6 separate regions of the Homo sapiens genome follow, and regions 1, 2, 4, 5 and 6 are each linked to region 3. The links are contacts of gene promoters, found by promoter capture Hi-C in blood cells and fetal thymus (Javierre and others, 2016). All regions are on one chromosome and are shown on one strand. The core of a region is centred on a gene start or on the middle of the fragment in contact, and the rest is flanking DNA. Distances in the headings are between cores, read along the strand shown. Region 1 has its middle 15 kb from the start of TENT5A. Region 2 has its middle 8.0 kb from the start of LINC01526. Region 3 holds the start of TTK (TTK protein kinase). Region 4 has its middle 12 kb from the start of LINC01526. Region 5 has its middle 28 kb from the start of LINC01526. Region 6 holds the start of IRAK1BP1 (interleukin 1 receptor associated kinase 1 binding protein 1).

What was found. The method cuts DNA at HindIII sites, captures the fragments that hold promoters and counts their contacts. A CHiCAGO score of 5 or more calls a contact.
Region 1: a fragment that was not itself captured here is called in contact with the fragment with the promoter of TTK in region 3 in 8 of 17 cell types (neutrophils, naive CD4 T cells, total CD4 T cells and 5 more); the score reaches 19.2 in neutrophils.
Region 2: a contact is called between a fragment that was not itself captured here and the fragment with the promoter of TTK in region 3, in 4 of 17 cell types (total B cells, monocytes, naive B cells and 1 more). The highest score is 16.0, in total B cells.
Region 4: a contact is called between a fragment that was not itself captured here and the fragment with the promoter of TTK in region 3, in 2 of 17 cell types (naive B cells and total B cells). The highest score is 6.3, in naive B cells.
Region 5: a contact is called between a fragment that was not itself captured here and the fragment with the promoter of TTK in region 3, in 4 of 17 cell types (total B cells, neutrophils, monocytes and 1 more). The highest score is 8.7, in total B cells.
Region 6: a contact is called between the fragment with the promoter of IRAK1BP1 here and the fragment with the promoter of TTK in region 3, in 1 of 17 cell types (fetal thymus). The highest score is 5.4, in fetal thymus.

What each region holds. Positions count from the first base shown.
Region 1 is chr6:81,735,105-81,739,966 of GRCh38, reverse strand. No RefSeq gene overlaps it. Among named protein-coding and RNA genes, the nearest start is that of TENT5A, 15 kb to the left of the region's middle. The HindIII fragment of the contact is 6,057 bases long and covers 1-4,862 here.
Region 2 is chr6:81,803,915-81,808,401 of GRCh38, reverse strand. No RefSeq gene overlaps it. Among named protein-coding and RNA genes, the nearest start is that of LINC01526, 8.0 kb to the left of the region's middle. The HindIII fragment of the contact is 210 bases long and covers 1,529-1,738 here.
Region 3 is chr6:80,002,351-80,006,953 of GRCh38, reverse strand. It overlaps TTK (TTK protein kinase), which reads right to left and starts at 2,305. Exons shown (of 22, transcript NM_003318.5): 1 at 2,241-2,305; 2 at 972-1,112. The coding sequence starts at 1,110. RefSeq lists enhancers at 2,704-2,823, 2,394-3,268. The HindIII fragment of the contact is 2,460 bases long and covers 1,003-3,462 here.
Region 4 is chr6:81,823,531-81,828,406 of GRCh38, reverse strand. No RefSeq gene overlaps it. Among named protein-coding and RNA genes, the nearest start is that of LINC01526, 12 kb to the right of the region's middle. The HindIII fragment of the contact is 2,112 bases long and covers 759-2,870 here.
Region 5 is chr6:81,783,829-81,788,785 of GRCh38, reverse strand. No RefSeq gene overlaps it. Among named protein-coding and RNA genes, the nearest start is that of LINC01526, 28 kb to the left of the region's middle. The HindIII fragment of the contact is 3,333 bases long and covers 2,039-4,957 here.
Region 6 is chr6:78,865,677-78,870,387 of GRCh38, reverse strand. IRAK1BP1 (interleukin 1 receptor associated kinase 1 binding protein 1) reads right to left here and starts at 2,837. Exons shown (of 4, transcript NM_001010844.4): 1 at 2,497-2,837. The coding sequence starts at 2,811. It overlaps LOC107986613 (a long non-coding RNA gene), which reads left to right and starts at 2,898. Exons shown (of 2, transcript XR_001744210.2): 1 at 2,898-3,000. RefSeq lists enhancers at 2,050-2,650, 2,483-2,802, 2,833-2,942. The HindIII fragment of the contact is 7,957 bases long and covers 1-4,711 here.

The DNA.
Region 1 (4,862 bases), core at 1,391-3,890, 1.7 Mb before region 3:
GGTAATAGCCCTTGAAATGTACCTTCTTGGGAGCTTACAGAAGTGGAGCTCCCCACAGGTAGCCACTACAGAGACAGGCACTGGCTATTTGCTTGTTTTGCAGTAAACGATAAGTGTAGATGTTTTGCAGTTTTTGCTGAGAGAAGCAAAAGGTTGTCCTGAGTCACTGGACACTTACATTCTCTTTTCAAAACTACTACAAAAATATTTAGTACTTAACTAGAATGTACATTGAAATTATATTTCCCTATAATCCTGTTTGTGTCAGCACATTAAAATTCCCTTGAATGTTTCTTATGTAACCACTTCTGGTTAACTCTTATCTTGAAGTTAGTACAATTTAGTCTTTGCTGTCTTTTTCATCACTGTGAAAGTCCCTTTCTCAGATTCTTCAATTGCATCAAATTCCCCATGCACTCCAAATCTTATTCCACTCCCAATTTATGTAAAACCAATTGTGCTTTCAGTCTATTTATTTTAGTTCAAGTAGACACCTTATTTAAAGAGGCTTTATAGCTCTCATACTAATTACTTATGCACTCACCTGTACTGCATGATGGGAGAAATGCGCAGCCTTCACCGTCATCAAAACGTTCAGTAAATACTTAATTTTTCATGTCTTTGATTGATACTATGTGAAGATTTACAAAGAGTTACACAAAACTGGCTTCTTTTCACTAGAAGCTGAAATTGGAAAGTTGACACAGGTATATGGACAAATACAACATAAAGCAAAAGTGCAATTATTTGGCCTGATCAATGTTTAAGTGTGCCCAAGCTCATTTCCACTTCATAACATATGCTGGTTGTTCCATCTCCTTTTAATTCTCTTCCTCCAGATCTTTATATCTCTTGCACTCTCACTTTATTATTAATTTTTGTTGCTGTTGAAATGCTACTTTCTCAGAGAAATTTTTTTCTGATCCTGTTTTCTAAAATAGAGTTTTCTCCAACATTTTTACAAAATTACTCTCTAAGTTCTTAACTTGATTTTTATATATATGTTACCATCACACTTGTCAGTACCTGAAACTGTATTATAGATCAATTTCTTTGTTTATGGTTTGTCACCATAGAATGAAATTCCATAAAGGCCACAAATTTGTCTTATTTATTACTATATTTTTAGTGTTTGAAATAGTGCCTGCTACCTAGGAGGTGCTTGTTAAATTTTTGTGAGTTAATGAATGAATAAGTCTCATTTGATTCAAAATGAAAGGTGAGGTGAAATATTGGGAACATATCAAAGAAGATGTTAAAATGGTGAAGGAAGAGTCATCAGGAACACTGTTGAAATAAGAGAAGGATCTTAGAGATTGCCTGCTTGTTGAAAAAGAATGGAGGAAAACCCAGGTGGAGAAATTCCAATTTTGAATCAATTTAGGAGCACTGAACAGTATGAAAGAGATATTCTCAGCTGAGTTGTTTAGGGCAGGGGTATTTGAACGAAAGAACCTGTTGCCTCTTTTTGATTCCTGAGCTTGAGGAGTTGAGAACAATGGGTAAACAATGTTTGTTGTGGCATGGTACTCAGGGACATATCTGCTAGCACCCATGGATCTGTTATCTGTTCCAAACCAAATCTGGCAGCCTGGTAAAGTGAGGATTCCAGTTGTCTTGGGTAGTAACTACACTTTCTTTCTTTCTTTCTTTTTTTTAAATCATCTGCTACATTTCTCAGAACTAGGGAATCCCTGAAAGAAATTTTCAAGACATAGAGCACAAAGACTGGATCTGTTTGTTATATTTTGAGTAAGAATAGAGGCTACTATTCAGGAAATGCACTTTGTTATTTGAGGAAGGGAAATGTAGAAAGGGCAGTCTGCCCATTAGCCTTTTCTAAAAAGCAATCAGTATTTCCAGTGGCATCCTTAGCTGGTCAAGCCTCATAGAACAGTCTTGCCCTGGGGCATTATACCTGTTGTGCCCATTTGTTATGGGTTTTTCATGAGTCTCCCAATTTCAGAATGTTGCCGTGTTGTCAGACCTTGTGCCTGCCATGCTATGGCATGTTGTCACAATAAGGCTTCTGATTTTAGGTGCCGTTTTATAATTATTGAAAAAGTTAGGTATGTGACAAAGTATGCTGGACTTCATAGATAAAACAAAGTCTACAAAAAATTTTAAAAATTAGTCTCTAATTTTTGCTACTTGTATATATTAAAACCAATGTGAATTCTCTGAATCTTGTCCAGAATTTCAACCTACTTAACCCACGTGATTCACATGAGAAGGGAGGCTAGGAGGGAGATGGATCGAGAAAAATGAAATAGGAGGATGTATTTCACAATAAATAATGAGAATTTTATGTAAAGTTCCAATTAGAAAGAAGGTAGATTTAGGCCTTCTAAATAAACTTAAGGTTTCAAGAACCACTTGAAGAAATCTGTAAAGAGGAGGATATCAAGAGCAGGAGGATATCTGAGCTATACACAGTTGTAGCCCAGATGAAGTAGTACAGGCCCCAAGAAAAAGAATGGTTATACAATGTGACCAATACTTCCCAATGGAAGGCTTTTCCATATAATGTATAACAGAAGTGGTACACATTCATAGCAATTTGATAAAACAATTATATTTTCCAGTTAATAGTCACAATAATCCTGATAGGTACAAAAGGTATTACAATTATCCCACTTTTAAGTTAAGAAAAATGAGTTCTGGAGTGTCTGAGCTTGTATGTAAGACATAAAGGCTTTTGGAACTCATTCAGTGATTACACAGAGAGAGTCTATTTCTGCCTGAAACACACAAGGTAAATTGTGTCTTTAACAACCCATCTCCTATCAACCATCTATCCAAAAGGCAGGTGCATCATAACAGCACAGTAAGTAGAAGGTTCAGGAAGAGCATGAGAGCTTTTCTTACAGAAAGAGATCACATCAATTGCCTATTGTGAGTGGATTACCTTGTGAAAAATAAGCATGATTTAAATTTTCAGTTGACAGTCAAAATTCAATAAACTACTTCGGTGTTGTCAAAGCTGTTTTCTGTATTCATATTACAGAAAATGGGCCACTTAATCTTTAAAAAGTGATCAATTAGTCTAGCCTACATCGCTTCTTATTGGCAATGCATGCTACCAGGTGGCTGCTTTTGAATCTTTAAAAAAAATTAAAGAAAATGTCTGAAAGGCAAGGTAAAGAGTATAATGAGATATGCTAACTTCTTACAAAATTCTGAATAAACTCATGAAACTCCTAAAATGTTAATTAGTCCTCTTGTGCTGTATGCTTATCACACCTGTTTAGTTATGCCACCACAGACATGTTCCCTGGAATTCTTATTCTAGTCTGTGACTTCTAGTTAATGATGTCATAAGCCTTTCTCAGTACATAGTGGCACCAAAATTCTCTTGTCACTTGGTACATAGTTCATAGGGATGGGAGCACAGAGAATCAGGTTAGTGGGCCTGGATTTTAGTTCTGAACTTGTACTAGTTCATGCATTTCTAAAACTGTACTTAAAGAAACACATGCATGCCCAGGCCCACCCTTAGCCATTTTTATATAGTCAGACTTGAGTGAAGCAAAAATACCTGTGATTTTCACAAAGTGTTTCTGAAGCACAGCTCTGCTCAGAGCCCTTGCTTTACAGGTTCCAATAGTGTCAAATCTATGTCACTTAGCCTGAATCCTCTGGAAAGCCGAGCCTGAAGCAATGATTATGATTCTAATAGTTTATTTTCCAGATACAATCACATCACAGGATGTTGAGGTAAGGAACAGATGTAATCTCTTGCAACACAGTGTGCTACCATGCTGGCTACTGCATCACAGCCATAACACAACATATCAGATAATTCAGCAGGCTTGTTCAGTCAGCAGGAAGGAATTATCTAGAAGGCTTGAAAGGAAGCACTGTACCTGGGAGTAGTATGCAGGGGAGAGAAAGGAGAAATAATTGCCTGCTTGCTTTCTCTCTGTCTCCCTTTTCCCACTGGTCAAAATTCACTCTGGGTAGAACTACCTCTTTCACATTTCTAGTTGCTTCATCTGGTCCTTGAGTAACTGTGCAGGAATGCAAATTTTATGTCCTGTAGGGTGATGCTTCATTTAATTCCAAAGGTAGGGTTGATTTGGCAACATATGGGGTTCTGACTAAGAAAGAGAGGAAGAAAGTAGCTAAAGTTTATGTCCTTCAATGCAATATTGTCACTGAAGGTGAAGGAGAGATTATTGAGGGGTTATTTCAGCATGTCAAAAAGATAAAGTTGGATTTAAAGAGGGCATATAAGATTGAGGAAAGACAGGAGCCACACAGAATACATTGGGAAAATAAAAATTAGTGTTAAATATTGTTGATTGGCACTTGACATCTCTTTCCACCTTTCTATATTCTAACCTGCATCCCAGGAGTTGGAAGGCAAAGAGCTACATTTACAAGACTCTCTTGCTGCTAGGTTTCTGGCTGCAATTCAGATTTTGCCAATAGGTTGCACTTGTGCATAGTATGTGGTAGAGAGCCCCTTTTTATGTGGCTGTGGTACCACCACCAAGTTTCTGTAGATGTGTGTACTGGCGACAACAGTAATTTCTTCACCTATGGATTTCAGCTGTAGTGGAGTGACTTTAAAAGCAAGAGTTGGCCAAGTGTGGTGGCTCATACCTGTAATCCCAGCACTTTGGGAGCCCAAGGGGGAAGATAGTTTGAGCCCAGGAGTTTGAGACCAGCTTGGGCAACATAGTGAGACCCTATCTATAAAAAAGTTTAAAAAATTAGCTGGGCGTGGTGGCACATGCCTGTAGTCCCAGCTACTCTGGAGGCTGAGGCAGGAGGATCACTTGAGCCTGGTAGGTTAAGGACGAGGGGAGCCATGATTGTTCCATTGCACTCTAGCCTGAATGACAGAGTGAGACCTT
Region 2 (4,487 bases), core at 384-2,883, 1.8 Mb before region 3:
CTCAACTAATATTCATTATCTTCCTTTCTTCCTATTCTGAATCAGCGGGCAGGATTATTTTAATATGACTGGCTAAAAAACCATTGAGAGATAGTCATTGCTGTGATTGAAAGCCAAATTGGTAAATGTGATCTCCACACAGAAATGTTATAAACAGATGCATGAGTATTGTTTGTGCAGGTTACACTGCTGTGCTGAGGGAATAGGGCTGATTAATTTGAATAAACGTAAAGATTGGTATGGTTCTACAATTCTTCTGCAATCTGCAAAAGGAAGGAAAGAACCATAGAAATCCTCAAATGTTTTCCAATATTTAGGCGGGACCCTTCCTTTCTACTGTTTCACTTTTGAAGACTATGCAGAAAGTATTTTTAAAAGGAAAACATTACTGAAATGCATACATGAATATAACTTTTCTATAAAAGTCATTGTTGTCTCATATATTGAGGCATTAGTTTAACATTTAACTATTTATTGTGCCAGAGTACTGAGTTAGGTGTTAGGGATACATGAGTCAACAAAAAGGCCAGTTAATAAATAAATATAATTGCAAATGTTGGTAAGGGGCCAAAGAAGAAAAAGGAGGTTATCACAACGTAGTTCCTTCCTATAACCTTAGTGTTTCTATCTGGAATAAAGTAGCCCTTTTTTGCCCCCTTTTTCTCTTTACGCAAGTTGAGCTTGGGTCCATATATCTCTCATACTTTGTAAAACCACAGCTTTTAAGACATATTTTTCTTGGTGTTTGGGATTAAATTTCATTCAGCTTCCTTAATTCCACTAAATCTCTTTTTAATTTTTCTTCTACAACCTGATTCTAATTGCAAATTTGCATTATATGGGATTTTTTTTTATGAGAAAAGAGAAACTGAGACTAAATTCTAGCTACTTTATCCTTGTCTCAGTAGGTCTACTAAATTGTTCATATTCAGAAAATGGGAGAGCAGGACCATAATCCAGGGACAAAGAAGATTTTGTTTGTCGGTTTACAGCTGGGCCGGCCCCATTCACAGGCAGTTTGTTTAACCAAGGTAAATAGGATTTCAGCTGGATCCTGAAGTGAGCATACGTAGATGGGAGAAAACGTTGTGGTAGATGATGACTCAAATTGCCAATGCCTCTCTATATCCATATCCTTTGACTTCCCAGACTCCCATTAAGAGGTGGAAGTTATTTTCCCACCTCTGAATCTGAGCTGTATTTGTGACTTGTTTTAGTCAACAATTAGGAGCAAGTGAGTTTTATGCCACTTCTAAGCCCAGGCTCCAAGAGGCCTTGTGTTAATCTTGCCCATAACTATGAAAATGAGCTGAGGTATCCCGTTGGCAGGTGGATACATGTGGCTCGATTACCTCTATCACCCCAGACAACAACCTGACTGTTGCCAGACATACGAGCAAAGCCATCCTAGACCAGCTAGTTGATTGTGAATGCATGAGTAAACCCAGTCAAACCTGTTTCAGATGAGCAGGACTACATAGCTGAACCATAAATTCAGAGCAATAAAAAATATTCTCAGTTTTAAGCTTCTGATTTTGAGGCTATTTGTTTTGCAGCAATAACTGATTATAAATATTTGCTACTTGAACGATTCCATGGTTTTCTAAGGTGATGTCCATTTTTCCTTTTCACCATCTCATTTTTGTATGAATTCCACCCTTAGCAAAGTTATTTTATCCTTTGATTGGTAAGAAAATCCAAAGGCAGACGTGTGCAGTGAATGTTTCATAATAAAGCTTTTAGGAAAAAAGCATGTGTATGTGTACAGATATGTATATGTACGTGTGCATATATATACATACTTGTTATACATTTTACATATAAAGTTTATAAATGTAATATAATAAAGCATAACACAAATTTATAAGTAGTAAAATATATAATACCCTTTTGTAAATTCCACGTATCCAATTGATTCTTACAGTATACTTTTGTTATTTTTTGTAGAACTCTTGTATGCATAACCAACTTATGGTTGCAATGCTACCATGATTTCACAAATGATTAGACCCCAATCTGCTACCTCTTTTTCCAATAAATTTGTTGCCATTAAATCCTATAAGTGATTTATTGTTGAGCTATTGCTAACGCTTGTACAAAGTTACGTTCATTAAATTGAAATAGCTTTTGGCTTTAATATTAAGCACAACACACTGTTAAGTTTAATTAGCATTATTAACATTTTCTCCATCATTTTCTTTAGTCTAAACAATCAACAGAATACTAAACCAAGTCCTGATTTGTAGTGTTGGCTCCTTTCTTTCATGAAGCATTGCCATCATGACCATTTTCAAGCTACTAGGGTGACGTCACCGAACACAGAGTGGGGAAGAGAAGCACAGTAGTACACCATCATACAGTATTTCTGCCATGCTGATACGATTGAGTTAAATAGCCTCAAAAACCTAAGTAATATAAAATATAGTAAAATAATTAGAAAGTGATGAGTTTGGGGTGCTTATAACCCTTATTTTTAATATAATTTATTGAATTATAAGTTCATATAATTTTTAATGATGGGCATGTCCAACAATTGGCTTGTTAAATTTCTAAAAGTAATAAAATGACATTCTGGGATGGATGATTAAAAAATAATAAAAATATTAACAATCAAATAAGTTGGCCTTGGCATACCCCTGCTGAAGGACATTGGAAACACCCAATGGTTCTAGGTATATTAATAACTCCCATGCATCGAATGCTCACTAAATCCCAGATACTGTTTTAAGTACTTTAGTGAGGTGATCTGCAGGAGTTGACAGGGAAAATGGAAATCTAGATGACATGAGCTTACATACAAAAGCGATATTCAGTGTTGATGGTGGAACAGTGGTATGGAAACACCTTGGTGATACCAAGATTTCAATGTTTAGAAACTGAATGTGGAACAGAATCTGTAACCTCCTCCAGAGAGTTCCCAAAGGAAATAATATCAATCGCAACAAATTTGACCTTCCATTGGAAGCAGTTTCAGAATTCTACATAGATGGATTTAATGGCAACAATATGGCTGGAAGATAAATTATGGACTCATCTGGAAGCTGAATTTGCATCACAAGTAATGTTTTTACTTCATACATGTTTTGGGTCAATAAAAATAGTGAGTTTCTAATGTAGTTTATGTTCATGCTGCTTGAGTTTGAGAAAGGATCAACTTTCTAGAGATTATTATACTATTACATTGGTGTAGCTATAGGATCACTGATAGAAATTCCAGGGGCCAGCCACTCATCTCTATCAACCCCTTGGTGTCACTGGAATCAAAGTATGATTGCCTTCATCATTGTAGGTGTGTGATAGGACTAAGAAAACAGTGTCAGTGACATAAACTGATGGCCACATTAGGTGTCTCCTTTCCATTTTCATAGTCTTGGTTTCCTGTGACTGAATCTTCCCAAAGTCTTTTGTGAAGCCAAAAGTTACCCAAGGCAGTGCAATGGGCATGCTTTAGCATCCATAAACTTGGCCTCTTGAATTGTTTTCAGCTTTGTTGCACATCTCATCTTCTTTTAGTCTCATTTTCTTTCTCAATAATACTTTCAGTTGGTGTTGGGAAAAAAAATGGTGACAAAGATGCTCAGGAAACTCCAGAACACCTGACACTATGATTCATTCCCAAGTTTTAGATTGTTTTTTTGAGTGGCCTCAGGGGGCATGATTATCCACAAGTGACAGGTACCAATGAGTGTTGTCTGGTGTGGGGAAATGTGTTAGCATATTACATTTAAAAACTCTTCAAATTAATTTATGTATCACTGTTGTGCGTGACTGAAATAGGACTCAACAGTGGGATGTAGGAAATTTGGAAGATTAATCAACATATAATTTTTGAGCTCCTACCACAGGAAGGACATTTAGTAAGTGTTGTGATGAATAAAAAGCTATGTAACATATGTAACACCATTATACCTGCTTTTAGAAATGTTGCAGATTAATTGGGGAGAAAAGATGTGATTATGTGAAAAATCAGAAATAATAAAAGATTAGATAAAGGAGCAGGGTATGGGTTATTTGTACATAAAGTACACAAAGATAATTTGGCACCAGGGTGAATGTAAGAAAGTTTGAAATTTATCCTGTAGGCAATGGGCAGCCATTGAAAAGTTAATGTCTAGAAATGTGGAAGTCAGCTAATGCAGATAAGGCTAGCAGTAGAGTGACTGACAGGGTTGCCATGAAGATACTCTTGCAGAATATTCTGAATTTGATGTTTGACTCTCTCATTTATTAGTTGAATGACCTTTGTCAAGTTGCTCACATTTCTAAACCTCAGTTTCTCACTCCAACAAAAATAGATAATGATAACATTTTTCTCATCATAGCTTTGTGACAATTAAGTGAAATATATAGGCAAAATGCAGAGCACAGTGCCTGGGCCAGAGAGTTATAATAAAAATAATGATCATAATGATCATCATGGTTGACAGTAACTGTTTGGATCACATGATGGGAATGGTAATAAAACTGAATGGGAGGAAAAATGAAGA
Region 3 (4,603 bases), core at 1,056-3,555:
GAAGCTATTATTCCTTCTATTAACTTCAGTCACTTTCAACAAAGCCTACATCTTTACTTTTATAAATAAAATTTGTTTCTACTTTCTACTAAAATATAGTGCATGCATAACTTTGCTTTGTCGTTTTAAATTTAATTTGGTCTGACCTTAATTTTCTATTTTTACCTCCTATTGCTTTCCTAAGAAATTAGTCTGTGAAATGTCTAAAAAACACACATTGCCATCTGTGGCTTTGCAGATGCATTCCTCATGCCTGAGTACCCTATTCTTCCTCTAATCAACAAATAAAACATTTGTGTTTTATCATGCTAGTATTCCTATGATGCCCAGCATGCATTACAATGTAGCATAGTGAATATATAAATTCTCATCTAGAAAGAAACTATGGTTTTAAGCATCTTTGAATCTTCCTCAGTACTTAAAATACTCAATTGCCTTGATGTACAACCTTTGTTAGTGACATAATTAAGCACAATTATACTCCATTAAGATTTTGCTTAACACTAAAACTATCATTTTCTAGGTTTTTTCAAAGTGAACAGTCAGCCACCATGATTAGATCACAGGTTCTTCCATTTATTTTCAATTCCTCATCTATTTAAAGGTTAGTATAGATGTAAGAAAATTATCCAAAGGTCACCATTCAAATGACCAACCATTTGAAATACAGTAAAGAATCAGGCTTCTGAGCTAATACTTTTAGAAGAGCTAGAGTATTAAACTCTGGGCATTTTCACCCATTAATCATTGTTCAATAAATGTTTAAGTGCCTACCTACCATGTGCCAGACACCATTCAAAGTTCTGTGGATATAACAGACAAAAACCCTGCCATCATGTAGCCTGCATTCTAATGGAGGAGAAAGACAATAAACACATGAGTAAATTATAAATAAAGTGATTAGTACTATATCTTTACCTTAGAGGATACCCAACAAACAGTTACTAACTTAAAAGAAAAGAAAAACTCACCTGTAGTATCAGCAGAAATTTTATTCAAGCTTAGTTCATCAGTAAGGTCTTCATTTTTAAACTTATTTTTAATGTCTCTCACTTTGTTCATTATGGAATCAATTGTCAATTCTCTGCCACTTAAATCCTCGGATTCCATTTCTAAGAAAAAAACTGAACAGTCATAACTCCTACTTTAACTAGCATCAAAGAAAAAAATGCACTAGCTTTTTAGAACCCAGACGACTAAAGCATTCGTTTTGTGAACACATCTAAATGCAGCTATTATTAGGCTAGTATTAATGGAGGTAAGTGCACAACAACAAGGTACACATCTTTGTAATTTATTCACCAAGGTTTCATAGGCCAAGTATACTTTTTCCCCCAATATAACATCAATGACGTCACACTGTAGAAATCTGCAAATTTAGTGTCACTTAAAAAAAATATGATAGAGTGTTTGCTTGGATTTTGGTAGCGACATACACATAAAGATTGCTTGGATTCTGGTAGTGACATAGACATAAAGAATTCGTTTGGCAATGGGAATAACAATTCCTTTATTCGCCTGCTTTACTTGAGTAAATCTTCCAGTGCAAGTGCTTTCAAAGCAGAATATAAACATGATGGGGCTTTACTGATAATTAGGAAATCCGCAGATTTATTCTTGTGCATATCTAGCAGAATCACGATTTGCTACCTTAATCTAACACTAAGAAACTATTGTACTGGTACTGAGCACTTGCTTATCTGCATGGTGGTGGTGTTTGTTCAATAAAGTGTCTGCAGTCTTATTGTTAATCGTATCTTTGTGACTCTCAAACACCAACTCAGTGTCACTGATAACAATGCTGCCCCGTCTTCAGGTTTAACAATGAAAAAAAGTCATAAAGTTGCAGCAAGGTATCACTCCACCTCTTAAGTCAGGTTTGAAAGATAACTGTCAGATCACGGCCACCCGCTTCTTTCCCAGTTCTAACCCCCAAAACAAGAGAGACTGTCCTTTGGAAAACGATCTTGTGCGCAGGTACCCCACCACCCCTTCTTTCCAGCGTGGGCCACACCCACTTCTTACTTCCTCAACAAAACCTCCTGCATCACCCCACCGGCCAGACCCGCTGAGGCAGTGAGACATCCCCTCCCCCTCCAGCTCGTTTAGCCGCGTCGCATACCTGGCTCCGAGCTGCCCCCACCTCGCCCCACCCCTCACCGACCAGCGCTAACAATGAGCCCCTACACCGGCTGCGGCTGTTCCTCAGTGCGCCGGTGCACCGGTAAGACAGAACTTACCTACAGAAAGCTGCGCTGGGGAAATGAAAAGATGGAACCCAAACTCCTTTCCGCAAACACGTTTGAATTTCCCCGTCGCTATCACTACGGTCTCCTATTGGTCAATGCTAGCCACGTAGAAGCGACAGTCGTGATTGGTTCTTGTGCGACGGGGGCCGCCCCTCCTCCTGCGTCAGGCTAGGCCCGCCCCGGAAGAGCCTGCGGCCGCGACCCCACCCGTGCGGCGCCTGGGTTGGTAGGGTGCTGGCACTTTGCAGGCGTTCCCCGGACGCCCGTGGGCGGGCTTTCCTGGTCTTTCCAGTTTAACCAGGCCGAATTTTTGCCTGGGAGGTAGCCACTCCCGAGCAAACCTACCCAGTGAGAGGAATATAGGGGCAGGGACGGCTGCTCCTAGCATCAGGACCTAAAAGATGCACCTTGGGCCGGCCCTTTACTGACCCCACCGCCACCCTTCTCCTTCGTTTCCCGCGGTTCTCACAGCCTGGCTTAGAGAGGATGTGGCAAGAAAGGATCTTTCACTGAGCTACGTTCAGCCCTGCCGCCAGCTCAAGAATTTCAGTGCTTTTTATCCTTGAGCTTCTGCTTATGCCCTTCCATTATCCTTAAATGACTCCACGCTCTGTCTTCAAGCCAAGACCCTCCCCCTTGTCAAAATTCTGCGCAGAACTCAAGCGCCCATCGTGATTGCCCTGTCTGAAGTCGCCTTATCGGCCCCCCTCCCTCGAAGCCTGCCCCACTTAAGGGCTCAGGTGTCCTCAGGGGTAAAAACATCTCCCTAGTAATAATCTTCGCGGGTGCGAGGCTCTGCCGCTAAGTGGCTTTGTGGTCCAGGGCAACGGTTACTCCTCGTCTGCAAAACTAAAAGGGATGTGTCTGTTGTGCCAGCATTATGACATATATTCTGTGGTAGGACGGGTTGGTTTTGTGTATGTATAGGAAACTAACTGCAGCTGTCACTTGTTAACTCCAAAGCTATCCTTAGAACCCTCACATTCCCAGCTCTGGATAGCCACCCAGCTAGCGTGAGAGCCCTTCTCAATCACTTAATGCATCTTTCTGTGTCAGCTAGCTAGTATTTCTGCTTCAGCAGAGCAAAATGACTTGCTATACCATGGTTGGCTAATCACTTACCTTTGCACCATTGCATCTAATGCTTCTGCCTGGAAAGAGTTTATTATTCCTCCAATTCTCGTTGATCTGTTTGCGGCCTGATCACAAAGCTTGCATTTTCCTTAAAATACTGTTGCTGGATGACCTCACCCTAACACTTCTTTCTGTACTCTCGTTTGGTGGTCTCCTTCAGTCTTCTATTTTTAAATACCATCTATATGTTGATGGCTCCCAAATGTGTATCATTAGCTGAGCTCTCCTCAACTCCATACTCAGATATCCACTGCCTACTTATTAACATCTTCACTTACATGTCTCATACGCATCTTGAACTCAAAATGTCCAAAACCAAGCCCCTGATCTTCCTACCCAAACCTGTTTTTTTTACAAAATCTATAAAAGACAAATTCATTGTCTTAAATTTTTTAGCCCCAAAACCTTTGTGTCATCCCTGATCCCTTATCTAACTCATAAGCAGATTGAGTCAGGGCTGGCACAAGAGATTCCTGGACTCCTACCAGTTCTCCCCACCTCCACTGCCACCACTTCAGTCCAAGGCATCTGCATCACTTAACTGATGTTACCTGCAGTAGCCTCCTGGCTGGTCTCCCTGCTTCTGCCCTTGCCTCACCTCAATTTATTCTCTGACATAGCAAAGTCATCTTAAATCAGATTATGTCACTACTTTGCTCAAAACCCTTCAGTGCTCCCTTTCTAGCTCGGAATAAAATCAAAAGTCCTTGTGATGGTCTGTGACTATTGAGCACTTGAGTATGTCTAGTGCAACTGGGAACTGAATTTTTAAATCAATTAACCTTAATTGATTAATTAAATTTATATTTAAATTTGAAAACTGATATCTAATGGGATTATTTTTAAACTATTTAAAGTAATTTTTTTTGCTTTCTTTTTTCTAAACTTGCATTAGTCATGAATTTATTGGAAGACTTTTAAGTATACTTGGAACAATGTAAGTATATGAACCTACTTTTTCAACTGTAAATTTTGTGAGAACCAAATGCAGATGAAGTATTTCCAGTGAAAGTGTCTGAGTATGAAATGTGATGTACTGTTAAGTATAAAATACACTCTGGATTTTGAAGACTGAATAAGAAAAAGTAATAAACATTGATAATTTTAAAAATATCAATTACAGGTTAAAATGATATTTTTGCTATATTGAGTTAAATAAAATATATTATTAAAATTAATACCACCCCATCACAGAGGAGACTAAGAAGACATGACAACTA
Region 4 (4,876 bases), core at 565-3,064, 1.8 Mb before region 3:
TAAATAAAAATAAAATAAAATAAAAGATTCTTAGATTATTGTGTGTTTTATCATAAAAATACTGTTTTATCATAATAAATCTGTTTTATCATAATAAATACTGTTAGGTGTTTGTCAAATGTCTTTTCTGTGCCCATTGAGATCATCATGTGGAATTTGTCCTTTATTATATTACTATGGTTATATAATATATTACTATGTCAAGAACTGAACTTAAGATTGCTGAGCTGCCAGGGTCTAGGTGGCCAATTAAAATAATAAGCCAAAGCTAAAGTAACAGTCAAACCTTTAATCACTTAGTGGTGATAATATAAGCAAGAGGCTAAATAGGAAAAAGTGCTGGCTCTCTCAATGTTCCATTTTCTCCCATGGAATGGTGTTGGGAGGAGTCAGATGTATCATTGCAGACATGGAGATTATCTCACTGCCAAGGGATTCCTCCCAAGAAGGTTCCTGCTGTTTCCTGACCCAAGGGATGGAAGGGGAAGAGACAGAAAAGCTAGGAGTGGGAAAGTACTTAATATTAAGTCAGAGTGAAGAAAAGTGTCTTCAAGGTCCCCCAGGTATGGTGGGCTTAGTAGATGCACCTGAAAAGGCCTTGGCCCAGGGCCTCCTGCTAACGATGCCTTCGAAGGGAGGATCCTGAGCTAGGAATGCAAGTGACTGCAACTTTCGTTGGAGCCTGCAGTGCACTAGCTGTACGCCATGTCTTGTGTAGAGAAGGTAGCTTTCCCCCAAGAGGCCTGCCAGGTAAAGCTTTTGAAATTGGTCCTGTGGTCAGACCTGAAAAATGGCACATAATATTTTGGGAGTCAGACTACTCATGTATTACATGGATTTTTGTATGCTGAACCAATATTTCATTACTGAAATAAATCTAATTTAATGGTCTCATGATGTATAATTCTTGATATATGTTGCTAGATTTAGTTTGCTAGTTTTGTATTGTTTTTGAGGATTTTTGTGTCCATATTCATAAGGGATATTGGTTTGCACTTTTTTTTTAGATATACTATTGTCTAGTTTTGGTATCAGAATTATCCTAACCTCATAAAATGAGTTCTGAAATGTTTTCTATTTTTTATATAAGTTTGTGAAGTTTTGATGTTAATTCTTTAAACATTTGGTTGATTGACCAGTGAAGCCAATTGGTCCTGGAATTTTCTTTATGGGAAATTTTTTGATTGCTAATTCAATCTCTTTTCTTGCTATATGTCTATTTAGTTATTTTATTTCTTCTTGAGTCAGTTTTGGTAGTTTTTGCCTTTCTAAGAAAGTGTTCATTTTGTTTAGATTATTTAATATGTTACCATATATTTGTTCATAGTAGTATTTCTTTTGGGGCCCAACTAGCAACAAATTCTCTGGTTCTACATATGGGGAATGTCTTAATTTCTCTTTCCTCTTTAAGAAATAGTTTTGCTTAGTTGACAGTTTTTTTTTCTTTTGTCACTCTGAATACGTGATTGACACCATGGTTTCTAATAAAAAATTAACTGTTAATTTAGAGGATCCCTTTTATGTATATGATGAGCTGCTTTTCTCTTGTGGCTTTCAAGATTTTCTCTTTGTCTTTTTCAACAGTTTTATTATGAGTTTTGGTGTGAATCTTCTTGTTTGTCTACTTGGATACATTCAGCTTCTTGGATGTGTAGATTAATGTTTTTTAAACAAATTTTGGAAAATTTTAGTCATTATTTACTCAAATATTCCTTTTTTCCCTTCTGCTTTCTTTTTATCTTGAAACTTATTACGCTTATGTTGGACTTGGTATCTTGCAATTTTCTAAGGCTCTGGTTTCCTTTTTTTTTTCCATTCTTTTTTCTTTCTTCTCTTCAGACTGGATATATTTGATTGATCTGTTTTCAAGTTCACTGATTCTCTTTTGCCAGTTCAAATCTGCTGTTGAATGTCTCTACTAAATTTTTCATTTCAGTTATTATACTTTTCAACATCAGACTTTCTGTTTGACCCTTTTTTATAATTTATATCTCTTTATTGATAGTCTCTGTTTGGTGAGATGTTGTTTTTACACTTCAGTTCTTCAGATACTATTTACTTGAGTTCTTTGAACATATTTAAAATAGCTGATTTAAAGTCTCTGCCTAGTAAATTCAACATTTAGGGCTTCCTCAAAGACAGTTTTCAGTGATCTTTCATCCTTGCATGTGGGCCATATGTTCTTGTTTCTTTGTATGTCTCACAATTTTTTGTTAAAAGCTGGACGTTTGAAAAATATATTTCAACTGTAGAAAGAAGAACCTCCCCTTTCTCTGAAAGGGAAAATCATGGTAATTTAAATCTCTGTGTGTATGCTTACTTGGATATTAGCATGATTCTTTTGGAAAGCTGCAAAAGAAAGTAGAGAAGTGAAGTCTTCTATTGATCATATATGGCCTTCACAAACCCCTTTTTAGTTTGTATTGCATTCTTGAAAACTTGTTGGCATGTTAGACAACTTTACAGGCAGACAGAAAAGCAAGAATAAATCAAATGCAAATTTAGTAGAAGGAAAGAAACAATGAGTATTAGAGCAGAAATGAATGAAATTGAGACTAAAATAATACAGAAGATCAACAAAATGAAAAGTTGACTTTTTGAAAAGATAAACAAAATTGACAATCTTTCAGTTAGACTAAGAAAATGAGAAAAAACTCAAATATATAAAATCAGAAACAAAAAAGGAGACACAACAATAAAGACCACAGAAATACAAAGAATCATTAGAGACTATGATGAACAACTATATGTGAACAAATTGGAAAACCTAGAAGAAGTGGATAAATTCCTGGATACATATAACCTTCCAAGATTGAACCATGAAACTAGAAAACCTCAACAAACTAATAATGAGTAATGAGATTGAAGCTTCACCAAACATTTAAAGAAAAACTAACACAAGTTCTACTCAAAGTCTTCCAAAAAATTGAAGAGGAGGGAATACTTCCAAACTTATTCTAAGACCAGCATTCCCCTGTTACCAAAATCACACAAGCACACAACGACAAAAAAACTACAAGACAATGTCACTGATCAATATATATGCAAAAAACCTCAACAAAATACTAGCAATTTGAATGCTACAATAAATTAAAGAGATCATTTATCATGATCAAGTGAGATTTATCCCAGGGATGCAAGAGTGGTTTAACATATGCAAATCAGTGAAAATAATACATCACATTAACAGAACCAAGAACAAAAATTTTATGATCATTCCAATAGATGCTGAAAAGCACTTAATAAAATTCAACATTCCTTTATGATACAAACCTTCAACAAATGGGGTATAGAAGGAACATACCTCAAAATAATAAAGACCATATTTTACAAACCCATAGCTAACATCATACTGAATGGGGGAAACATTGAAAGTTTTTCTTCTAAGATCTGGAACAAAACAAGGATGCCTGCTTACACCACTTTTATTCAATATAATATAGAATTCCTGGTCAGGGTAATTAGGTAAGAGAAATAAATAAAGTTCAAATCAGAAAGGAACAAGTCAAATTAGCCTTGTTTCCAGGTGACACGGTCTCACACTTAGAAAAGCCTAAAAACTCCACCAAAAAACTGTTAGAACTGGTAAACAAATTCAGTAAAGTTGCAGGCACAAAATCGATGTACAAAAATCTATAGCATTTATATATGTCAACTATCTGAATAATCTGAAAAAGAAATCAAGAAAGCAATCTCATTTATAGTAGTTACAAATAATATAAAATACTTTGAAATCCATCTAACCAAAGTGAAAATTCTATCCAAGCAAGGCAATAAAACACTGATGAAAGAAACTGAAGAGGACACCAAAAAAAATGGAAATATATTCCATGCTCATGGATAGAAAGAATTAATATTGTTAAAATGACAATTGTACCCAAAATAATGTACAGATTCAATGCAATCCCTATCAATATATGAATGGCATTTTTCACAAAACTAAAAAGAAGTTCTAAAATTTATATGGAACTACACAAACCCTAAATAGCCAAAGCTGGAGGCATCACACTACCTAACTTCAAAATATACTACAAACCTATAATAACCAAACCAGAATGGTACTGGAATAAAAGCAGACACATAGAATAGAGAACCCAGATATAAATCCACACATTTAAAGCCAAACTCATTTTTGACAAAGGTACCAAGAACATACAATAGAAAAAGGACAGTCTCTGGGAAATGGTGCTGGGAAAACAAGATAACAATATGCAGAATAATGAAATTAGAATTCTGTCTCTCACCATATACAAAAGTCAACTCAAAATGGATTAAAGACTTAAATCTAAGACCTGAAACTATAAAACTACTGGAAGAAAACATTGGGGAAATGGTCCAGAACTTGATGTGGGCACATATTTTTCTTGTGTAAGACTTGTGTAAAAGGACAGACCACCAAAGCAAAAATGAATAAATGGGACCACATTAAGCTAAAAATCTTCTGCACAGCAAAGGAAACCATCAGCAAAGTAAAGAGACAACATAAAGAATGGCAGAAAATATTCACAAACTCTATCTGACAATAAGTTAATAACTGAAATATATAAGGAACTCCAGCAACTCCATAACAAAAAAAAAATAAACAATTCAATTAAAAACCGGGCAAAAGATCTGAACACATATTTCTCAAAATAAGACATACAAATGATGTGTATATGAAAAATAGTTTGACATCACTAATCATCAGAGAAATGCAAATCAAAACCATAGTGAGATATCTCACTCCAGTTAAAATGAGTTATCAAAAAAACATAGAATAATGGAAGCCGGTGAGGGTATGGAGAAAGGGGAATTCTTGTACACTGTTGGTGGGCATGTAAATTAGGAGAACTACTATGGAAAGCTATATGGAGGTTTCTCAAAATACTAAAAATGG
Region 5 (4,957 bases), core at 2,456-4,955, 1.8 Mb before region 3:
GAGCCAGAGTGTTTTACTAAAGCTGCTCTCTGAAGTTGGAGATGGCAATTGGGTTAGGAGATAGGCGCTGGGCTGGGGAGAGACTCAAGCAACAGAGAACAACATTTCTCCCTCCTGAATGGGAGCAAGCATCTTCCTTTAGATTAAGTGCTCTCTATTTCCTGAGTGAATAGGGACAAGTTTCCTAAGCTAGAACCTTTCTCAATTCTGATAAGTTTGAGTTATTGACTTTCCATTCTGATTACTATTAAAATTTCTTTTAAAATAAATCAGAGGTAGAGTCCAGTAGTCCAGTAGAATATAGAATCTCAGATATAAAAGGAAATAAACTGTCTTCAGGAAGATTAGAGTGCAAAGTGAGTATTTAAATATTTTATTTGATAATATGGGTTACTGATGTATCTTCCTCATCCCCAATTTTTAAACCCTATTATGTTTATAAGTTTTGGAAGTTTCTGTGGAAATATTTACTTCACAGTTTTAATAAGTATCACAATTAATTAATTGAACTCCTGCTATGTAGAAGGAAAATAATATTAAATAAAGTCACATTGTCATGAAATATTTTCAAACTAGTTAGTAATTATATAAAATTCAAACCTGTTTCCTCCTACTGCACACTCCATACTCCCACATAAAAACTACCAACAATGACAATATTCATTGCAAGAAGCACATTTGAGAGACCATATGAAATTGTCCTTCTTATTGGTCTAAAAATGTTCTAACAGCATAGAAATTTAAAAATGCTCAACCGAAATAGTACAAATAATATGGGCTAGGTATTAGGAAACCTGGATCTTCCCCTAATTAGTTGTTTGCCCTTTTGTGAGTCATTTAGACCTTCTGACTGACCTCCACTCCTCTCTGCTCTAAACTGGGATTAACAGTTTATGCTCTCTGCAAACCTCTTAAGGTTGCTGCCAGTTTCAAAGCAATATTTGTAAACCAAAATATACTCTACGAATTCAGGGTATTATGAACCTTAAATAGCTAAGCTCTGTGTCAAAGTTTTGTTCTTAAGGCATCATATTTCTCTGAGTAGAAGTGTGTGAGCTATAATACTATGCTGCTACTATCAAACAGCCAATTTTGTCTTTCAATGGTTTTAAATATCAGCCTGAGATTGAAGAAAATAAAAATGGACAGACCTGTTGGGTTTTTATTTTCAGATTCAGCCTGAGAATCACAGTTTCTGGGACTGAGTAAATACTACTTATGCTTGTCTAGGAGTAGAGTCAATTCAAATGGCACTATGTCAACTTTGTTAACGTCATCAGCCACAGACTTTTTCTTATGCTGCCAATAATACAATTTATTGCTGTTTTTAAAAAAGTTATAGGACTACCATTTTCTTTTCCTGCTAAAGTTTTCCTTGTCATTCTGATTCTTTGAGGTAAAATGAAGAACTGGGGAGGACCTGTTTTGGGGAGACATTTAAAGGAGCAATGTTGGTCATTGTTAGATAAATGACAGGACTTGCCTCATACAGTAAAATGTAAACAAATATTTGAAGTTCTTTTGAAACCGACATGAATGAATTTTGAACAAGGCAAAATAGTAATAGCCACTGGGCAAGAAAAAAATATTAGAAAGCGCACACACAAAAAATCACACAAGGATGTGTGTCTGAGTAAAGAAAGCAAAAAGCATCTTGAATAAAGTAAATACAGTAAAAACAAAAAGGAAATTGCATTGACACAATCACTCTGGTATATAATTTGAAAATATTATCAATTTCCTAAAAATGAAACTGAAACTAAAGCACTGAAATATCAAGTAGCAGTGAATATTTTAATAATATCTGCCTCAGAAAATGTAAAAACATAAAATTTTAGGCATCGGAGCAACAGCTGAAGACTAAATGCAAAATGAGACGAATTATTTTAGAAAAGCCAATTAAAAAGTAAATCCATTTTGCTGTCTACATAACTCATCTTCCCCAGAAAGCATAAATGTCAAAATTTTAATAAATCCTATTAAAACAATTCTTCAAGTTGCCATTTTGCTACACAGAGGGTCATAGACATTCCAAGCTTCTATATACATAAACTCTATCGTAGTACCCATTGTCCTGTTGTGTATTGCAGACTTGCCCATGTGAGCCATCAGACAGACAGATTATAAAATGTCCCGCAGAGAAGGCAGCTCTGGTCTAACATTCAACTCTTTATGGTAGCTAGGAACACCTTAACAGAAGTCCCTTCTGTCAGAAGGCTACTCAAGGTGGTGGGCCCAAGGAGATGTCCTTATTATTCCCTGAAATGGTTCAGTGGAAAGATAACTTGATTCAGATTCAGAACCTGGGTCTGAGCTCCAACACTGACACCACAAGTGGAATGACCTCAGGCAACTCACCAAATTTCTCAAGGCTGGGCTTTGTTCATCTGTGAGTTGTGAATAATAATAGCCTAACTCATAGGATTGATGTGAAAGTCAGACGAAACACAATGTATCTGTGAATGTGCTTGGTAAACCATGAAATGCTAATAAATGCATGGCATATATAGTTCCTGACAGAGTAGTTCAAGTACAGTACTTGCTTTGATTTCACAGAATTACTTAGATGAAAAACTCAGTGAAGTGTGAGCACTTCTGCTCCCTCTTTTTGTACAATGGATTTCATGTTAATTAGTTCTAACCAGCTCCATGTTGGGGAGAAATGCATTTAACTTTGGAAACTGCCCCATATGATATTACAAATATTAACTGCCTCCACATTGTTTTCACTGCTGGGATTACCGCCCTGTGCAATAAGCAGTAGAAGCGGCATAATGCCATTATGCGTATCTAGATGGTGTCGAGACAGTGGCCACACTTTCACATCACTTTCTACCAGATTTCCATACATCTGCCCCTGCCCCAGCCAAGACTATTTGCTTTCTACCTTTCTCATACCACTTGATTGTTTCCACTTCTATGTTTTTAGAAGCTGTTTAACTTCACGTTATCCTCATTTTTCTACATGGATGTATTGCTCTTACCATCTTAAAGATCTACCTTTCTGGAAACCTTGCATGGTTGATCCCATTCTGCTTTCTTAATTCTAACTTCAATGCCACTTAATAGAGAGTTGTGCAAGACCCCATATTTCAGTAGATGTTAATGGAGTTTCAGGATAGTGTATGCAACTAAGAGTGGGTGTACATAATGAGGGTGGATCAATTCAGTCACTTCATCGCAGCTTTCAAAAAAAAAAAACAGAAATGCAAAACTGGTCCATCCAGTTTCCATTTATGAAGAGAAACTGCCATGAATCAGATTATAAGTGATGTTTGTCTCAGTTTCTTTCACACTCCAACTTAATGTGTGTATGCCTGAGTGTATATATGTATGTTTGTGTATTTGTGACCTTCTCAGCAGCTTAACTCAATTGCTTAATCCGTACAGCATAGAGAAAATTCATTAGATAGGAAATTGTAGTCTGTGCTGCCGTTAATTTGCCAAATTAATTTTCCAAAGCTCAATCTCTCCTGTAAATTGAGTATGTCACACTAGCTGATCCAGAAGGTCCCTCTAAGCATATATGACTTGTAGACGGGAGAAATCTGTAATATATCTATGCTAGGTCATATCAGAAAAATACCTTGCCATTCTCTGCCATGCCATTCACAGTGAGTTTAAAGTTGCTATACTTTATATGAATGTTATTGTATAGACAGAAAAGAAAATGAAATAAAGGGAAGGAACATGGAAAATATGCTTCTCTCTTCTAGGCTTTTTCAGTGGGAGTATATTGAGGACTGACGTAGTAAGTCCAAATGTTACAGCTTGTTCCTGAGTCTGGTGCCACTAGAAGCCTTGCAGAGGAGTGCAGTCTCCTCCATGATTAAGTTCCAGATACCTAACGGCCTACTGCCCTGCACCAGTCTGAGTCCCAGAGTCTCCAGATCCAACAACTACACTAATTAAAAAGGCTCTTTTATTCTGTAGTAATTGTTTGGCTCACTCAGACTGTGCTAGAGCTTTGGAATGGAGTAGGAAGCTGTACAGGTAGCTCCCTGTAGCAGCCCTAAAGTGGAGTTAGGTCTACTGACTACTGCTGCTGCTGCCCTAGGCAACCTGACCCAGGGTTCCAGATCATCAGGTACAAAGAACAGCATCCTGAGTCCAAAATCAAATTACTCCTTTGATTAAAATACTCCAATGGATCTGTAAGCAGTTGATGGATAACCTGGGAACTTTGAAACTTTCATCGACTTTCTAAGGAGAACCAATATGCTATGTGTCATACTGAATAAATGCTTAGTATTTATTGAATTACTAAACCAGACTAAATAACATTTTAAAGAAAGTTTTCCACAAGCTGTGATGATAAGTCAAAATCAGGAAGTTAAAATTATATGGAAATAAGCATCAAGATCTATTCTTAGGTTGACAGTAATTTAAAAAAGATTTTATGTTTGTATAATTACAGATTGCAAATCATTTATACATATTTAGTTCATTTAATGACTGCCAAAAATGCCACATTTCTATATTAGGATATTCTTATGATATTCCTATAAAGATTTTTTTTTAATAAAGTGTGACACAGACAGTATAAACAACTTTCCTGAAGTCACATATCTAGTAAATTGCCAATTGAAATCAAAGTCAGTCTTCCAATTTTAAGTCCTAGGCTCTAAATTGCTGCATGCAGCTAAGGGACTATTTGTTTAGTCCCTGCTATCTCTTAATCCACTATCAGTACCAATCCTTTGTGTTTAGATAGAGGGAGCCCCGGCTTCATTAAAATACCTTTGGAGAGCAGCAATCTTTCTTACCTTCATGAAAATACATCATCTAGAACAAGACTAACCGTCCTACTCAACTGTGTATTGGCCAGGCCATATCTAGAGCATACTCTTTTGAGTATTACATTGAAAGATTTGAGATTTATGAAGAGTCAGAAAGTGGAAAGCTGAGGGAGTTTAGTCTAGTGGTTAAAGTTTTTAAAACTATGTCTTACAAGGAG
Region 6 (4,711 bases), core at 1,588-4,087, 1.1 Mb after region 3:
AATTAAGAATTATGATACAGGATAAGTTTTTATTACAAGTATAGGGAGTGAAGTGTTGCATGGCAGGGATTAGTGTTATATTAGGAAAGGAATGCCAAGAAGGTGAATTTGGGCTGATTCTTTTCTTTTCTTTTTTTTTTTGAGACAGTGTCTCACTTCCATAGCTCAGACTTGGGCTAATTCTTAAAGAAAAATACAATAGAGGGGAGGAAGATATGATAGGAGATGAGGATAGTCAGGCTCCATCTTTTTTTTTTTTTTTTTTTTTTTTTTTTTTTGGGACGGAGTTTCACTCTTGTTGCCCAGGCTGGAGTGCAATGGCACGAACTCAGCTGACTGCAACCTCCGCCTCCTGGGTTCAAGCAATTCTCCTGCCTCAGCCTCACAAGTAACTGGGATTACAGGCATGCACCACCATGCTTGGCTAATTTTGGTATTTTTAGTAGAGACGAGATTTCACCATGTTGGTCAGGCTGGTCTTGAACTCCTCACCTCAGGTGATCTGCCCTCCTCGGCCTCCCAAAGTGATGGGATTACAGGCGTGAGCCACCACGCCCGGCTCAGGCTCCATCTTTTAAGCAAAGGAGTTTGGATTATGAGGAGCCCTTTAAGCAGGGAAGTGATGTTTATAAATCTTACAGCTCAGAATTCTAAAGTTTAAAATGAATACAGACTTTGTGAAGACCCATAATTCATTCTGAAAATATAAATGATATTTTGTATTATCTCCTGAACAAATTATCTACCTGACTGCTTTCATCCATTAGCAGAGATAATTGGGAGGTTACTGTCTTTCTTATGTCTTGCCTTGAACACTGAATCTTGATTACTCTAAGTTGGACTTAGTTAATTTATTTACTTACTACTTATTTGAGACAGAGTCTCTGTCACCCAAGCTGGAGTGCAGTGGCACCATCTCGGCTCACTGAAACCTTCGCCTCCCGGATTCAAGAGATTTTCCTGCCTCAGTCACCCTAGTAGCTGGGATTACAGGACTGTGCCACCATGCCCACCTAATTTTTGTATTTTTACTAGAGATTGGGTTTTGCCATGTTGGCCAGGCTGGTCTCGAACTCCTGGCCTCAAGTGATCCACCTGCCTTGGCCTCCCAAAGTGTTGGCATTACAGGCATGAGCCACCATGCCCAGCTTATGTTGTTTTATATATTAGAGACCTGTGAGCTCTTTTTATTTTATGTAAATAACTTAAAAACTTGTTAACATTATTCAAACGACTACAGCACTAGTAGCAGTTTTTTAAAACTATTTTTCTACATATTAAACCCACTTTACTCACATTATTTATAATTATCTGTATTTTTCTAAATTGTAAAATCATTTGAAGAAATCTTGTCCAAATGACTTTGTAATAACTTGTATGTTTGTATTATAAATGCAATTCAAATATCTTTTCTTGTTAAAAATAAGGACTTGCTTTTTCGGGGTATGGAATTTCTTGCAATAGACTGGAAGTAACAATGCCTGCACTTTTACCAACTCAATGTCATCCTGGATAAGTTACATCTCTGGCCTTTGGGGTCCTACTCTATAAAATGAGAAAACTGAAATCGTTGATCCCTATGATTTCTAATTTTCTTTCATTCTAATTATCGGCAGAATTGGAAGCAACTTACATTCTGGTTTCAGGAATACATGAGTTCAAATATTGCTCTACCTAAAGTTCAGAGCATTGTTTAACCTCTTTAAATTTGGAAAACAGGGATATTAAAACATGCCTAACAGTGCTATTGTGTGGATTAAATGATGGCTTCATTTTTTTTCTTGCCTTAGGAGTAGGCTTAAGGTAAGATTTGTTTAGTGATTTGTCTCATGGACATCTCCGTTAAGTAAGTAGAAGTATTTCGTATATGTGGTATCCACAATACTGGCTTGATTTTTTCTTTTAAGTTAAACCTAAGAAGGCCGAAGAAATTTTGGGGGAATCACTATAAAATGAAAATCATTATAAAATGAAAATGGACGCAACTTCTTCCCCACTTCCCAACGTTACTGTTTGCGGAACATACTCAAGAACCATTCCATGCAAAGTTTTACATGATCGGAAGGAAGCAGGTCGTGCTCTTCACTTGCCAATTCCATGGTGCGGAATAAAAACAAAACAAAACAAAATATTTAGTGTCCAGCACTCCACGTGGGCAAGTATTTACAACTAACATTTCAAGTTTTAACATTTCATCACTTTAAATTTAAAAACAAAATCACTGAAGCAAATATCCCCAGATAAAAACCTACCCAATTTGCATTCTTTTATTTTTAATTTGCCTGAGGCCAATAATTACCTTCGTCTAGGAGAAGAATGGGTCAAATATTCACTCTGCCAGGTCCTGGCGTCCCGGAGTACCTTTGCAACAAACGCGTCCTAAACGCTCCAGACCCTCCACATCTCCCTTCCCGCTAGGGGGGCCTGTGGGGCCCGACCATCTGCCAACCCTTTTGTGTCTTCCGGCTCTTATTTCCTCCCCCGCGGAGATCTCACCTGCACGCCCTGCTGCTGGAGGCTCTGCGTGATGTAATCTAGACGGCGACAAACGCTCTTTTTGGCCTCGGCTGCCGCCTCCTTGGTGCTGCTCACTCGCACCACCACCTGCGCCCGGTCAGGGCCCGCAGACACTTCTGAGGTGCCGCTTACTTGCACCTCGCGGGTAGCAGTTTGGGCTTGTGTTGAGGAGAGGGGGTGGCGTAAGCCCGGTAGCGTCTCTCTCCCTGAGGCCAGGTTGTTCTCCCGGCTCCGGTCAGCCCAGGGAACCAGTTCCACGAACACTCGGGTCGGAGGGGTCTTTTGCAGAGACATAGCGATGGCAGCTGGGTTTCCATAGTAACTACCGGCCGACGGCGGCCGAAGGGGCCAATGCGCACCAGGGCTTGCCTGTGCACGGCGCAAAGTATGCCGGGATGGGTGTGGAGGCCGCGGAACTTCTGGCGGGCGCAAGCTATATGCCTTGTTGATCTTGCCGCATCTTTTTTACTAGATGTCGGCTGAGTGAGTAGCTACAGTTTTTAACATGTTTAACTTACGGCCTTCAAAAATTGTTAGCGGACTTTCTCTGTTGCCTCCTCAGTGAGCTCTGCCCTTTCTCGCAACTCCTTGTCGTCCCACCGCGCCTCTGCACCTCAGAGGAAGGAGAAGAGTAGCGAGGCCGAGCGGGTTTTTAGATTTCTCTGTGATTACCCCCAGCCTTGTCTTTTCTGACTTTACCGTCCCCGCTTGGGGTACTGCTTTTTGAGGCTCCCTCGGCCACATTTTTGTGGTTCGTGAGAGGTTTCAGTTGAGGTGAACTTTTTGCCCCTGTGATCTTGGACAGTTTATGATTCTTCATATCTCAGTATCATCTTCTCTAAAGCAGGGTTGATAATATTTTTTATATTAGTAATATATAATATATTCTAATATATATAATATATTCTAATATATAATATATTCTAATATATATAATATATTAATATTATCAAAGCAATGTTGATAATATTTTTCACATTTGCTATGTGCTTATAAGGCGCCCATTGTATGTAGAGTGCGTTGCATATGGAAAGCAGAGTGAACATAATGGATGTTTGTAATGATAGCTATGGCTTTGGCATCATTTTTGTGTCTCCCCATTTTTTTCTAAAATCCCTGGAATGGTTCGGGCCTTGAATTCCGACAGAAGAGATTTAGGTGGTAGCAAAGCACGTCCAACATGGAGTTTGCTGGGCCTGCACAACTTGGAGCTTCTCTGTACCCTTTTCTTCAGAGAACTTTTAGAACACAACCCTCAACTTCCCGTCTTCTGGATTCTCTTCCTAGCACTAAGCAATGATCTTTGTAAAAATAGCCCCACTGACTTATACGTCTTTACTATCTGAATTTTATCAAGAGAATCGAGGGGGGAAAAAAGAATTTTGAATAACTAGTTCTAGAAGGACAAGAACTGTTCTTTTAAAAGGACCCTGAAAAGCTGACAGTCCTCTTGTAGTTTCTTCACCATCGTTTTTTCTGTTCTTTTCGATTAGTATAATTCAACTAAATCAATGGTACCCCCCTCCTTTAATTAGGCTCATCACTAGATTAACATAATTTTGTGTATATCCATCTTGTTTATTGTTAGCTGAAAACAATTTTAATTTAAAAACTAACGTTAAGAACTTTCCGTCATAGTCTTTTATTATTTAAGACACCCAAAATAATGTTTCTTAAACTTGGTGAAAAATTCTTTTTCCCTTACGATAAATGCGGAAGAATATAGCCTCCAAAATAAATTATTGAATGAGTGAATGTCATAAACAAAAAGCAACAGGAGTTAAAGTGTAAGTATTTAGTATACGATAAAAGATTTCATATCAGTGGAAAATGATTACATGGTACAGGGATAATTGTAAGCTATATATATAATATACTATAGCTATATAGCTATAGTATATTTTATATATATATATATTTTTTTTTTTTTGAGGCGGAGTCTCGCTCTGTCATTCTGGCTGGAGTGCAGTGGTGCGATCTGGGCTCACTGCAAGCTCCGCCTCCCGGGTTCACGCCATTCTCCTGCCTCAGCTCCCGAGTAGCTGGGACTACATGTGCCCGCCACCACGCCCGGCTAATTTTTTTGTATTTTTAGTAGAGATGGGGTTTCACCGTGTTAGCCAGGATGGTCTCGATCTCCTGACCTCGTGATCCGTCCACCTCGGCCTCCCGAAGTGCTGGGATTACAGGCATG